Regions from separate parts of the Homo sapiens genome. Here region 1 is linked to region 2. Evidence: promoter capture Hi-C in 16 types of primary human blood cells and fetal thymus (Javierre and others, 2016). All regions are on one chromosome and are shown on one strand. Each heading gives the region's core, a stretch centred on a gene start or on the middle of the fragment in contact. The rest is flanking DNA. Distances are from core to core; before and after follow the strand shown. Region 1 has its middle 49 kb from the start of TIMM21. Region 2 holds the start of CYB5A (cytochrome b5 type A).

Region 1 (6,438 bases), core at 2,260-4,759, 94 kb before region 2:
TCTTTCACACTGAGAATCCCTCCTCCTCCTTTCATCTCATCTGCCTGACCCAGCCAGGAACGACTATGTGCTTCTAAGGATTCACAATGATGATGAGATAAGGTATGAACTTTGCCAAGAATCAGGTTCTTGAGTAAGCAACAGCAGCATCTGTTTCAAAATCCAGCTCCCCCAGCTACAGAGGCTGGGCTCTGACCCACACAGAAGCACTGCTCTCTCTCTCTCTCTTTTTCCCCCAACAGGGTCTTGCTCTGTCGCCTGGGTTGGAGTACAGTGGTGCCATCTCGACTCACTGATGCCTTGGCCTCCCAGGCTCAAGCCATCCTCCCACCTCAGCCTCCCAAGTAGCTGGACTACAAGTACGTGCCACCACGCCCAGCTATTTTTTTTTTTTTTTTTTTTTTTTTGTAGAGACGGGGTCTCACTCTGTTGCCCAGACTGGTCTTAAACTCCTGGTATCAAGTAATCCTCCCACTCCGGCTTCCCAAAGTCCTGGGATCACAGATGTGAGCAACAATGCCCGGCCAATGTTGCTCTCTTAACAAGCTCATTTTGGGCAAAGAGGAAACAGTGCCATGCCAGACCACAGTGGAGACTGGGGCAAAGGAAAAACCAGTATCTCTGATCGTGTCTTTACTGCAAGTGTTGACATTTTGTTAATCCTGGATATTCTGCATGGATTTTGATTTTAAAAAATATTTCTTTAAAGTATTATTTATCCAGGCCAGGTGCAGTGGCTCATGCCTGTAATCCCAGCATTTTGGGAGGCCAAAGCAGGTGGATCATTTGAAGTCAGGGGTTCGAGACTAGCCTGGCCAACATGGTGAAATCCTGTCTCTGCTAAGAATACAAAAATTAACCAGGTGGTGGTGTGCGCCTGTCATCCCAGCTACTTGGGAGGCTGAGTCAGGAGAATTGTTTGAGCTCGGGAGACAGGGGTTGCAGTGAGCCAAGATTGCGTCACTGCACTCCAGCCTGGGCAACAGAGCGAGACTCTGTCTCTCTCTCTCTCTCTCTCTCTCTCTCTCTCTCTCTGTATATATATATATATATATATATATATATATATATATATATGTGTGTGTGTGTGTGTGTGTGTGTGTGTGTGTGTGTGTATAATTTATCTTGATGACTGAGTTTTTGTCACTTCCTTTAAATTGGGTGCCCAAAGTGAGTCCTCCTCTTGCCTCCCCGAGTGCCAGAGCCCTGAGAGAAAATAAACCATTGCTGAGGAATCCAGGTATACAACTTTCCCAAATCCAGATTTATATGCTGCTTAGAATAGCAAAATCATTCCACCATACCAAAAATGGGCAATGGAACCAAAAACGTTCATAGTATTCTGAAACATACAGAGTTCTACATCTTGTCTTTGCGTCTTCCATTGATCCAAAGGAGAGAGGAGTAATGAAGATAAAGAAGACAGAACTGATTCTATTCCTTCCTGCCATGCGTTTAACTTTTCAGTACACGGCAGCAAACATGCTCAGAATGGTAGATTAATGCGTTTCATCAAAAGAGGGAGCCCTAACCTTCATTTGCTCATACCTGAGGCTTTGGCTCTTTGTTTGTCTTTGTAAATAGAGGAAGAATGTTAAGTATTCCATATGAAAGAACCAGGTATCGTTGAGTTGATTCTACTGTTTGCCTTTTGTCGTTTTGTTCTGTCTCCAAACCAATTCCCTCTGCTGGGTGGGTGAGAAGGCTTCCTGGTTCTCAGCCATCGTAACAGAAATTCAGGGTCTTCAGAGCCTAAATGACGCCTTACCCCTTCATGGCCACTAGAGGGCAACCGACACCACCATAATGAATTGATCCACCCAGGTTTATGATATTAACTAAGTTGATAATTATTTACACTATAAAGGCATTCTTTTGAGACCATTCTTCCTTTAGAATATCCTTTTAAAGGTATTTGTCTCTTTAAGATATATTTTATATAGCATTTATTTACATTTCGATATCCCCTAGTAAGTCCAATTAAATTTTAAAAAATTTGGACACAGCCTCCATGTATTCAACAAATATTTAAATATTACAGTTTGCATTCCATAAGCCTTTGTGCTAGACAATGAGGCCACAAATTTGAAAAAAGACTCAATCCTTGTCCTCAAGAATAGATGAATGGGAAGCACAAATAACTACAAGTACCAGAGCCAACATTTGCACAGGGACAGGCAGCATGGGTAAGGGAGTAATTCACTCTTTGGGGGAGGGAGAGAATTCAGCTAAACTTGTGTTGTATTTTGCACAAAAGGGATATGGCCAGTATGTAAAGTAACATGCATTTAATGGGAAAAGTGAAGCAATTGATATACTCTTAAAGTGTTTATTACTTGAAATGTTGGAAGTTTGAAATCATTCCCACTCTCTCCCAAAGGGAATATTTTGTTCATCACTGGATTTATCAGAGAAAAAAGCAAAAAGAAAGTGAGTACAAAATCCCCAAGACCTAAGTGCATTAGAAATCTCAAAGGGACTATGAAACATTCCCCTGATGTTTTTCCCCCATAAGAAGCTTAATTTGCTAAAACCCTTTCACTCCTGTAATCCCAGCACTCTGGGAGGCCGAGGTAGGCGGATCATGAGGTCAGGAGATCAAGACCATCCTGGCTAACACGGTGAAACCCTGTCTCTACTAAAAAAAAAAAAAAATACAAAAAGTTAGCCAGGAGCAGTGGCGGGCACCTGTAGTCCCAGCTACTCGGGAGGCTGAGACAGGAGAATGGCATTAACCTGGGAGGCAGAGCTTGCACTGAGCCGAGTTCACACCATTGCACTCCAGCCTGGGTGACAGAGGGAGACTCTGTCTAAAAAAAAAGAAAAAACACTTTAAAAGATATATTTTAATTTGAGAAAGAGTTTTTTAAATGTATTTTCTCCAAAAGCCACATTGTATATAGCCTGGTCCCGGAAATGCTCCTCCCCTCCCACTTGGAGAAGCCAGTAGGGCAGGAAGCTCTCCTGGTGCATGCCTGTGGGCCTCCTGTTTCTGTGAAGTGGGGTATGGCTCCTCTGTTTTGCATAACTGGAGAGCTGAAAGGGACATTAAACAAAGGGCAGAACATGAACCCGGAAATCCCTACCAGGCCAACGATCCAGAGGCTGCTCTCTGTGCCACTTCCCCATGCCCTGGGCATGGAGCTCACCGGAGATTAACCCAGCTTCCCTGAGCCCAGGGGAACCTAGGCTCGGCACCACCACCCCCAGGAGTTTCCCGGGATTGTAAGCCAGTGGCATAAGTCAGCTGGATGCAGAGAATGACCTGTAAACCCTGGGCAACATGCATCCTAGCTTTGCCTGCAGCAGTCAGAGCCAGGGGGCTGAGGAGGCTCGGCCGGGGCGGGGGCAGTGGTTCAGTCCCCCTGGTCCCTGCCCAGGGTTGAGGCAGAGGGAAAGAGAGCAATCAGGTTGTGGGTGGGGGCAAGCCCATGCTCAGCCACTGGGGCCATGCCAGGTGGGGACGTCCAGCTCCCGGACACAGTGCGCTGGGACAATGCCAGAGCCTGCAGGTCAGGCCATGGTGGGGCCTGGCTCCACTGCTCAGGCTTCAGGCAGAAGGGCACGAGGTTGGAACAGGAGCTGTTGATGGGACTCAGAGCTAGAAGAGGATGAGCAGGAAGAGAGGGCAAACAGAGAATGAGGGTATCCCCAAAGGAGGGTCCACTTGGATGACATGGCCAGCTCCAAGAGCCACCTCCAGGTCCTGGTCCTTACATCCAAATCCTAAGTCCTAGGGAGCAGCATGTCCATGCAGATGGGCTGTGCCCTGTGCCCCTCAGTGCTCAGACAACAGAGGTGGCACAGACGCACTGCACCCAGCACAGCTGTGGTGCCCTGAGGCCTCAGGTGTCCGGATGTTGCTCAGGTGCCCTGGTGGCTCAGGGGAGAGCAGACTCAGTCACAGTGGCTGGGCATGGCAGGAAGTGGCTCCTGGGTGTACAACATGGGAGGCCAGCATCATCTGGCCAACAGATCCTGCCAAGATGGGACAGGGTCGGAAATGGAAGACAATAGGGCTTCCATGAAGTACTCAGACTGCCTATGAGATGGCAATAGGCCCCAGGACTTAGCAGCGCTCTGACAGGGAGCTGGAGGTGGGGATAGGATGGACCTGAGGTCCGGGTGCTGGAGGTGGGGACAGGATGGACCTGAGGTCCGGGTGAGGGAGCTGGAGGTGGGGACAGGATGGGCCTGAGGTCTGGGTAAGGGAGCTGGAGGTGGGGACAGGATGGACCTGAGGTCCGGGTGAACTGCTGGAGGGAGGCTTCTCAGGCCACAGTGCAAAGGAGGAAGAAAACGCTTTCAAAGCCCAGGTCAGGGGTGGGGAGGTTACGAGTGATGGCCAGCGGGTTAACAAGCCATGCCAGAAACTACTGGAAAACCCAAGACTGTAGACACTTTCTAAAAGTTCATTTGAAATTATTATACCTTGGGTGATAAGGATAAGAAAAATTGGGAAGTTTGCTACATCAGCAGCCTAGTGGAGGTGAAGAGCTTGAAGCTTGGAGTCCTTATTAACTATGAGACTTTAAATAAGTAACTGAATCTCTTTGTAGCTGTTTTCTCATCTGTGAAACAAGGACACGGACACGTACACTCCTTTCCTCAAAATCCTTTTTCAAGGATAAAAACGAGTTACTGGATACACAGCACTCATAATGGTACCTGGCATATAGCTCAGAGAGTGTTAGCAACTGTTATTATCATCATCTTCTCCCTGGGAAAGAGGAAAACGTCATGCCCGTGATATGTTGGGGGCAATTAATAAATTGGGCCAGGTGCGGTGGCTCACACCTGTAACCCCAGAACTTTGGGAGGCCCAGGAGGGAGGACTGCTTGAGGCCAGGGGTTCAAGACCAGCCTGGGCAACATAGCAAGACCCTATCTCTACAAAAAAATTAAAAATTAGCAACCCTATCTCTACAAAAAAAACTAAAAATTAGCTGGGCCTGGTGTCACAGGCACCTGTAGTCCCAGCTACTCTGGAGGCTGAGACAGGAGGATGGCTTGAGCCCAGGAGTTGAGACTGCAGTGAGCTATGATGGTGCCACTGCACTCCAGCCTCGGTGACAGGGTGAGACCCCATCTCTTGAAAAAAAAAGCGGGGACTTTGCAACAAAGTCATTTGAAAAAAAATAAAACATGTTTCTGTAAAATCATCTTGTCTCCCAACAATCAAGTCTCAGGTTGTGTCCATGGGGTTATGGCTCTCTCACTTCCCAGCCAGACTATGAAGGAGCGAAGCCCCGTCCTTGGGAAGAGGAGACGTGAGCCAGGCAGGATGGGCCCAAGGAGGGAGTCCCTTAGAAACTGTCCAGATGAAGGCTAACGAGGTGCAGCTCCACCCAGCCTCCTCGGGCTCTCCTTCCCACAGGAGCCTCTCATCCTGCGATGGCCACATTCTACCCTGGGTGGTGTGGGGCACTGGTGCTTGTGTGTTCTCCGTTGTGGGCGGGGGGCTGGGAGTGTGGGGCATGGACAGAAGGCACGATTTCTTCATTCACTAAACTCCAATGGATCAGCTTCCTTATTTTCTTCTTATGTGCCTGGTGTGAAGAGTGCTTGATTTAGCCAAAATCCATGGGAAAAAAATAAAAATTAAATGTTTTTCAGTTCATGGGAGAGGAAAACTGTGATGCAGTGTGTGTAAGTTGCTCAGATGACTACCACAAAGAACAGAAAAGGAGGTGGGAAGCCAATCACAAAACCTCGGCTTCCTTAGTTATTTGGGATAAAAATAATTTTGCTGCCAGCTTTCCCGGGAGGGCACCTGAGAAGGACGACTCCGCGGACCCGTTTGACTAAGACATTTCTAACATAAGTCACATAGGGGCCCTTCTTCATGCTCCTCTCCTACTTTGCCAAACATCGCACACAGGAAAATAAAAGACTCTTAGATTTCACAATCTCCTTTTCTTCTTTTATTTCCTCAAACAGCTTCTCTTTCTGTTCAAAGGACATAAAATCTCCCTGTGTGTCCACTGGAATATCTGGGCAGGAGACAGAGCGGCAACGCCACGACTTGTGTCCTGTTTGTTCTGCTTCTGAACGCACACGGGGTCTGAAGCGCCCCTTCTCCTTTTGTGGCCCTGGCTGGACTGTGGTTTGCAGAGTCCGTCTTTCCCCTCAGCCCCCGTGGGAAGCGCCCAGGGCCACGTGGGGAGAGCTGCACTCCCCAGCCAGGATTCCCACTCGGGCATTGCTCTCATGGAGGGAGGATGCATTGGCGCTTCCATTCCAACACTGCGGGTGCTGCCCTAAGCCGCCTGGGAGGGACTTTGACTCACGCTCTGCACGACTAAAGGTGAATGACAGTGGTGCAGGAGGGGTCATGCCAGTGGCCCCAGGTGGGCTGCATAGCCCTGAAGAAGGGACACAGGCTCCGACTCTAACAGAATCGGCTGTGAACCCTGACTCTGCCCTCTTAAAAATGAA
Region 2 (6,547 bases), core at 3,921-6,420:
TAAAATTGTGCATGTTATTTATTCCTTGATTGACCAAAGCCGGCTTGCATGTGTTTTCCCTTCCTTATTTACAATTTTCATCAACCTTTAAGATAATCAAAAAGCAAAAGTTAATTTGCTGTTTCTTTACTGTTTTCTTTACTGTTTCAAAACAAAGTTGCCTCTTGGAACCTCTTTTCAAAAGTAGCAACAGGTTACCAAAAAATATAGAGATATATATAGAAATATACAAAAGCCTCACGGGTTCACATTCCCCAGGTGGCCTTCTAAGATGTGGTTTTACTACCACTTTACCCAAGATGCCTAAGCCACCAACACTACCAACAATAACTTTATATTTCCCTTCTACAGACTCTGTAATTTCTAAGTTTTATTTACCTAACGGTATATATTAAATAATAATAATGTTCCCATTTTACATGCATCAAAGGCATATTTGCCAACTGCAGCCTTTAGTAGCATGAGATTCAGAATACTATCAAATTTTCTTGCAAAAAGCAAAGGCATTTAGTATTTTAGCCCTAAATATGGTAGCTTTAACAAGGGTAAAGATACGTGTTCTATGTTTTTCAAAATTAAGGGCAATGAATTTCAGCACCCATACTCTCTTCCTCGATTCCCAAGCCTTAGAACCACTGGTCTACGCAACATAGGCAGCCATGTTCAATGGAAAATAACAAAGAGCAAGTCCCTACAATAAAACCTGCTAGAAAGGACACTTTTAAGACTCCAAAAATCAAAGTGAGTCAGGAGCCAATAGCTTCTATGAGGCAGAATGCTGTAAAGAACATTTAAGGCTCAGGTCCAAGACTATCAGAATCCCAGGAACACTAGAAAATGTTCTACAGAAGCAAGTTTCCATTTTTATGATGTAAAGGGAGAGGAGACAACTTCACAAAAAGACATTCTGCTTTATAAAATTTTCCAGGACAGTATCTATTTCACGAATCAAACACCCACTGACTTGAACCAAAAGCAACAGCTAATGGAAGTGTTGTTAATTACAGGATACCTTTCTCTCTCCCCTCCACAGCTCTTTTAAAAACTGAATAGATGCTGCTGCCCAAATCACAGAAAGGGAAATGCAAACATTTCTCCCCCTGGTCCTAAATGCCTAAGTTTTCATTTCAAATAACTGTCCCTTAAAGTTCTATGATCAAGCAAAGACTCAATTTCACAAATATAAACTCAAAAACTAGAACTCAGGATTGAAAAAAAAATCTAGTTCAAAATATGTAGGCAATAAAGCTCAAAATCTTTTAAGTATCAGACAGTAACTAAGCACCTGCTGCTATGTCGACTGCCATTAATAATAAGCCAGTCTTCCCTCTTAGGTTTCTACCCCTCCGCCTAAACAACAAAAACAGCTTTAGTGGCCATTATTTCAGGAGGTCGGAGCACATGCTGCACCTGTGAGCTTCAACCTGTGTTCTTGGCTTGTACCTGCCAGCAGAGCAGGATCCCTCCACCATCTCACCACACACCTTCTCAACATGAACACGGACATGCACATAAATCTAGGACATTCTGAAAGAAGGGGAAATACTCAGCCATGAGAAATCCTGTCCATACGGATGGGGGATCTCACAGTAAACAAAGGTCTAGCCCATAATGACTGAAAGTTCATTTGAGAGTTAGAAGGAGAAGATAAATCTTTCCTATTTAGGTAAATTAGGTGAGATAAAATATTTGTTAGTTAACACACAAAGGCTTCATGAAATTCTGGAGCCTTTCAACAATAGAAGACAGGAAAGAGGATCGGGCAAGCGGGGAAGAGAGACAGAGACATTCTGCACTCATTTCTGTTTTAAAAGTACGTTTCAGACAAACAGACTAGCCTCATAACAAACTACCTGGCAGGGCAGTGTGCTGAAGAGCTCTGAGCGAGTGAGCTTATTGGAGATATAACCCCAGGAGCACAGGAAGTCACCTGCAAGGAATCCTGGCTAGAGTCTCAGATAGAACCCAGAGAGAGGCTCCCAGAGGCTTTGCCGGGGGCTGGGAAGCCAATGACCAGGACATGCAATAAGCAAGAGATGGTCACAGAAAGTCAAAGCAAATAATAAAGACGGCAAATGGAAAAACACGTCCATAAGAGGTCGAATCGGGAGGTGCCCAGAGGTCAGACACAATCCAGTGAAAGGCTAAGTGGCCTTGCTTGTTCCCAGAACCACATGTTGGCAGACAGTGGAGGCAGAAACGCATGCAGTTCTCGCAATGCCTGAAGATCCCTCCAACCTCTTAAAGTCAACAGGACCAAAACCAAACTAACTCCTTGTGTTTCTCCCAGACCCCAGCCTCCTCACTCACGCCATCCTCCTAGCCGTTCCAGGGGTCAGCCACCCTCTTGTTCATTTTATTTGAGATGCATTCTCCACAAAAACTTTGAGTAAGAAAAAATAAAGAAATTTGTTTTCAGCTAATTTACCCACTCAAGAGCTTGCTCTCATCTCTCAGTTTTTCTCGGAAAATTTTTTGCACAATCCCTCCTTTCCTGACTCACAGGAATGAAATGTGAAAGTAAATAGTTTTGAGTACATTTTAACAATAATCTTCACTTCCCTATTATCGTCTCTGAAAATCTACCCCTAAAGTCATGCACAGTAACCTTAGTAATTCTCAAGTTGGAGAGATTATGTGCCCTAGGGGACCTCTGGCAATATCTGGAGACATTTTGGGTTGCTATAAATAGGGGAGGTAGGGCTGGGAGCAGTGGCTCACGCCTGTAATCCCAGCACTTTGGGAGGCTAAGGTGGGTGGATCACCTGAGATCAGCAGTTCGAGACCAACTTGGCCAACATGTTGAAACCCTGTCTCTATTAAAAATACAAAAATTAGCTGGGCGTGATGGTGTGCGCCTGTAATCCCAGCTACTTGGGAGGCTGAGGCAGGAGAATTGGTTGAACCCAGGAGGCAGAGGTTGCAGTGAGTCGAGATCACACCATTGCACTCCAGCCTGGGCCACAAGAGCAAAACTCTGTCTCAAAAAAAAAAAAAAAAAAAAATAGGGGAGGTGGTGGTACCGGTCATCTAGTGGGTAGAACTCAGGGAGGTGGCTCAATATCCTACAATGCCCAGGACAGACGCCACAACAAAGATCGGCTGGCCCAAAATGTCAACAGTGCCAGGGTTGAAAAAACTCGCTTTAGGAGAAGACAAGAAAAGAAGAAAATGCTTCATAATATAAAATATCCTAATATTCTCTTATGCTACTTCTTCTATAAGCACAAATAGACAAAGCACACACTGTATCTTAAAATTCCACATTTAGAGTTAATGAGAATTGATGTTATATGACAAGATCTGCAGCCGGGCAGGAGGGAGAGGACAGGTCAGCTCTGATTTCCCAACATAAACCCCTCCTTACTAAATGGTAACATGACTTTATCTTCGGGCACTGCTCCAGAGTGAAATACCTTACCAATAAACATCAACTCCAGCCTTATTATTTAATTTTATTTATTTATTTAGAGACAGAGTCTCACTCTGTCCCCCAGGCTGGAGCAAAGTGGTGCGATTTCGGCTCACTGCAACCTCTGCCTCCCAGGTTTAAGGGATTCTCCTGTCTCAGCCTCCCGAGTAGCTGGGACTACAGGCGTGCCCCGCCAGGCCTGGCTAATTTTGGTATTTTGGTTAGAGATGGGGTTTCGCCATGTTGGTCAAGCTGGTCTCGAACTCCTAGACTCAAGTGATCCACCCGCCTCAGCCTCCCAAAGTGCTGGGATTACATGTGTGAGCCACCGTGCTTGGCCCAGCCTCATTTTTTAAAACAGGCCTTTTGATTTTAACATTTTCTGCAAAAACAAAGTCCTCTGATATAAACTGTGATCCAGCTCAGACCAGGCATCTATTTTTGTCCCCTGCTCCCCGACTATGTAAAAAATTCCCATCACTAAACCTTCTCATTATTGGGAGGGGGCGTGAGCATGCGTTAAGATTTATGATTGAGACTCCCCCAAAAGTAGTAAAACACTTCCAGAGGATCTAAGACAATCACCAAAAGCGCCCCTTAGCGTGTGCGGCAAAAATTATAACCGAATGCAAAGAATCTTATCAAAGGAATGTCTTCAAGTTAACCAACGTTTCCTATTACACCTTCCAAAGCTGTTAGGGGCGAGTCCCACGCAGAACGTCCGCTGCTCTGCCTGGCCTCTGTGTTCTTGCTCCAGCCACACACCGCGGTCTCAGGAGTCAAGCACGGCACCTGGCTGCCAAGGCGTGACTGGAAAAGGTTAATTAACACCGAGCCTCTTCCAGGTGAACGCGAACGCGAGTGGGTGTGGACCGCAAGGTCGGCCAGTGGCTGCCGCGGGAAGCGCAGGCCCGGACCACACCCGACCTCCGCACTTGGGGTCCCCTCCGGCGGGATCCGCAGCTCTCGGGGTGGGTGGTCTCCAGCCGGCCACTGCGGGAATGCCGCCGGTCCTGGAAGGACACCCTTCTATTCAAACTCAAGGGAGAAAGGGATCATTTAAATCCCCCGCATGGCTGCGCGCTATCCCCGGAAGGCTGCTCCAGCACCACCTAGCGAGGATGCCGCCGCGCAGGGCGCTCCCAGGTGTGCACGCGCAGGTGTACGGATTCGGGGAGCGCTCCCAGGTGTACACGCGCAGGTGTGCGGACTCAGGGAGCGCTCCCCAGGTGTGCACGCGCAGGTGTGCGGACTCGAGGAGAGCGCCCAGGTGTACACTAGCAGGTGTGCGGACTCGGGGAGCGCTCCCAGGTGTGAGCGCGCAGGTGTGCGGACTTGGGGCGGTGGGGGGCGCCCAGGCTTGCACGCGCAGGTGTGCGGACTCGGAAGCGCGCCCAGGCGTACACGCGCAGGTGAGCGAACTCGGGGGGCGCGCCTAGGCGTAGGTATGCGGACTCCGGGCCGCGAAAGACAGGTCATGCCAGTGAACCCCCAAACCCGGCCCACGCTCCCTGCGCCCCAAGCCGCTCATCCCCAACTCACCTCTTCCAGAAATTTGGTCAAATCGTACACCTTGTGGTGCAGGATCAGCCAGGTGCTCTTGCTGTGGTTGTGCTTCTGAATCTCCTCTAGGGTGTAGTACTTCACGGCCTCGTCCGACTGCTCTGCCATCTCGGTTCGCCGCGAGCCAGGCCCAGCACACACAGCCCCGTCGGGTGGAGCAGAGCGCGCGACTCAGCCAGCTCCACCCGGGACATTCCCCGCGCCGGGAACCCCACTGGGGGCTGGGCGGCCGGCTCAGGGGCGGGGCGCAGTAGAAGGGCCTCCGACGGTTGGCCATCATCCTTGTCACTCAAAAGTCCCCGCCTTCGGTCGACCCCCTCCGCCTGCCCAAGCGTGGTCCCGCCCAGTATGCGGGTGTTAATTGGCTGCCGGAGGTGCCCTTCACAATCTCCCGGCTGCCGCAGCGCGCGGAGAGCGTGACAGGACTCCACGGAGTCTGCGCGGAAGGGCGGGACTAACTGTGGCGAGGGCTGAGGTGGGAGGTCGGGGGCGTCCCCGCGGGTTAAGCGTGCGAGAGAGCGAGGTGCACCAGCGGGCATGGATGGCCTGTGCAGAGTCCAGTCTTGTGAGGGCGGCGAACTAGGCAGCGAATCGCGGGAGTTTCCTATTGGCAGCAGTCCGAGTCCCAGACGTTAATTTGTAACAAAAGTAGCGATGGCCAAGCCCATAAAGGGGGCATCTCGGAAAGCCGTTCGCATGCACGGAAGAGATGAAAGCCCCGTGCGCGCTAGAAAACGGTTTCGCAACTCACTTCGGGAAGCAAATGCGCTGCCCCCCAAAACATAAAGTTGGCGAACTGTGCCTGACCCCGCTGGGGTTTTGGAATGCCTCGTCCTCACAGGAAAAAAATCCAGGGAAATCATCTTTTCCTTAAAAAGCAAAAGTGTCCAAATTATTTCTGTGACTGAAGTAGTTTGTCTGCGGTTGGCCAGTGACATGGCAAGGCCTTGTTTGTGCATTTAAGGTAAATCAGATTCTCTTCTAGGAGTCTGGAAGAGAACTTCCCCAAAGGGCACCCTCTTTCCCTTCTGACACAGAGGAAATACCACATATAAAGAGCTACAAATGTTTGAAGGAGAAAAAAAATAAAGAAAAATTCCAGCATGTTAAAATTTGATATTTTATGTAGGCCCTTTTCAGCAATGGTAGTTAATTCCAAAAAGAACCACACGAGAGGTTTCACATGTGGGGTCATCCATCCTTCCAGGGATGCAGAAGGTTCCTACACATACTAGGTGTCTGATGAATGTGAGCTCCCTTCCCCCTGCTTACCTCCTCCATAGGAATGCATGCCTATCCAGAAAAACACAAAACACACGCATGTCAGGCCTCTGAGCCCAAGCCTGCACATATACATCCAGATGGCCTGAAGCAACTGAAGAATCACAAAAGAAGTGAAAATGCTGAAGCAACTGAAGAATCACAAAAGAAGTGAAAATGGCCGGTTCCTGCCTTAACTGATAAGACAGTCACCTGTCCTCCTGCTCTTTGCTCTGTGAGAAAGATCCACCTACAACCTCGGGTCCTCAGACCAACCAGCTCCAGGAACATCTCACCAATTTTAAATTGGGT

What was found. The method cuts DNA at HindIII sites, captures the fragments that hold promoters and counts their contacts. A CHiCAGO score of 5 or more calls a contact.
Region 1: a contact is called between a fragment that was not itself captured here and the fragment with the promoter of CYB5A in region 2, in 2 of 17 cell types (M2 macrophages and M0 macrophages). The highest score is 5.5, in M2 macrophages.

What each region holds. Positions count from the first base shown.
Region 1 is chr18:74,194,785-74,201,222 of GRCh38, forward strand. No RefSeq gene overlaps it. Among named protein-coding and RNA genes, the nearest start is that of TIMM21, 49 kb to the left of the region's middle. RefSeq lists an enhancer at 2,817-3,473. The HindIII fragment of the contact is 1,986 bases long and covers 2,517-4,502 here.
Region 2 is chr18:74,286,793-74,293,339 of GRCh38, forward strand. It overlaps CYB5A (cytochrome b5 type A), which reads right to left and starts at 5,171. Exons shown (of 5, transcript NM_148923.4): 1 at 4,955-5,171. The coding sequence starts at 5,083. RefSeq lists enhancers at 3,750-4,357, 4,963-5,132, 5,212-5,381, 5,671-5,730, 6,090-6,259. The HindIII fragment of the contact is 14,442 bases long and covers 1-6,547 here.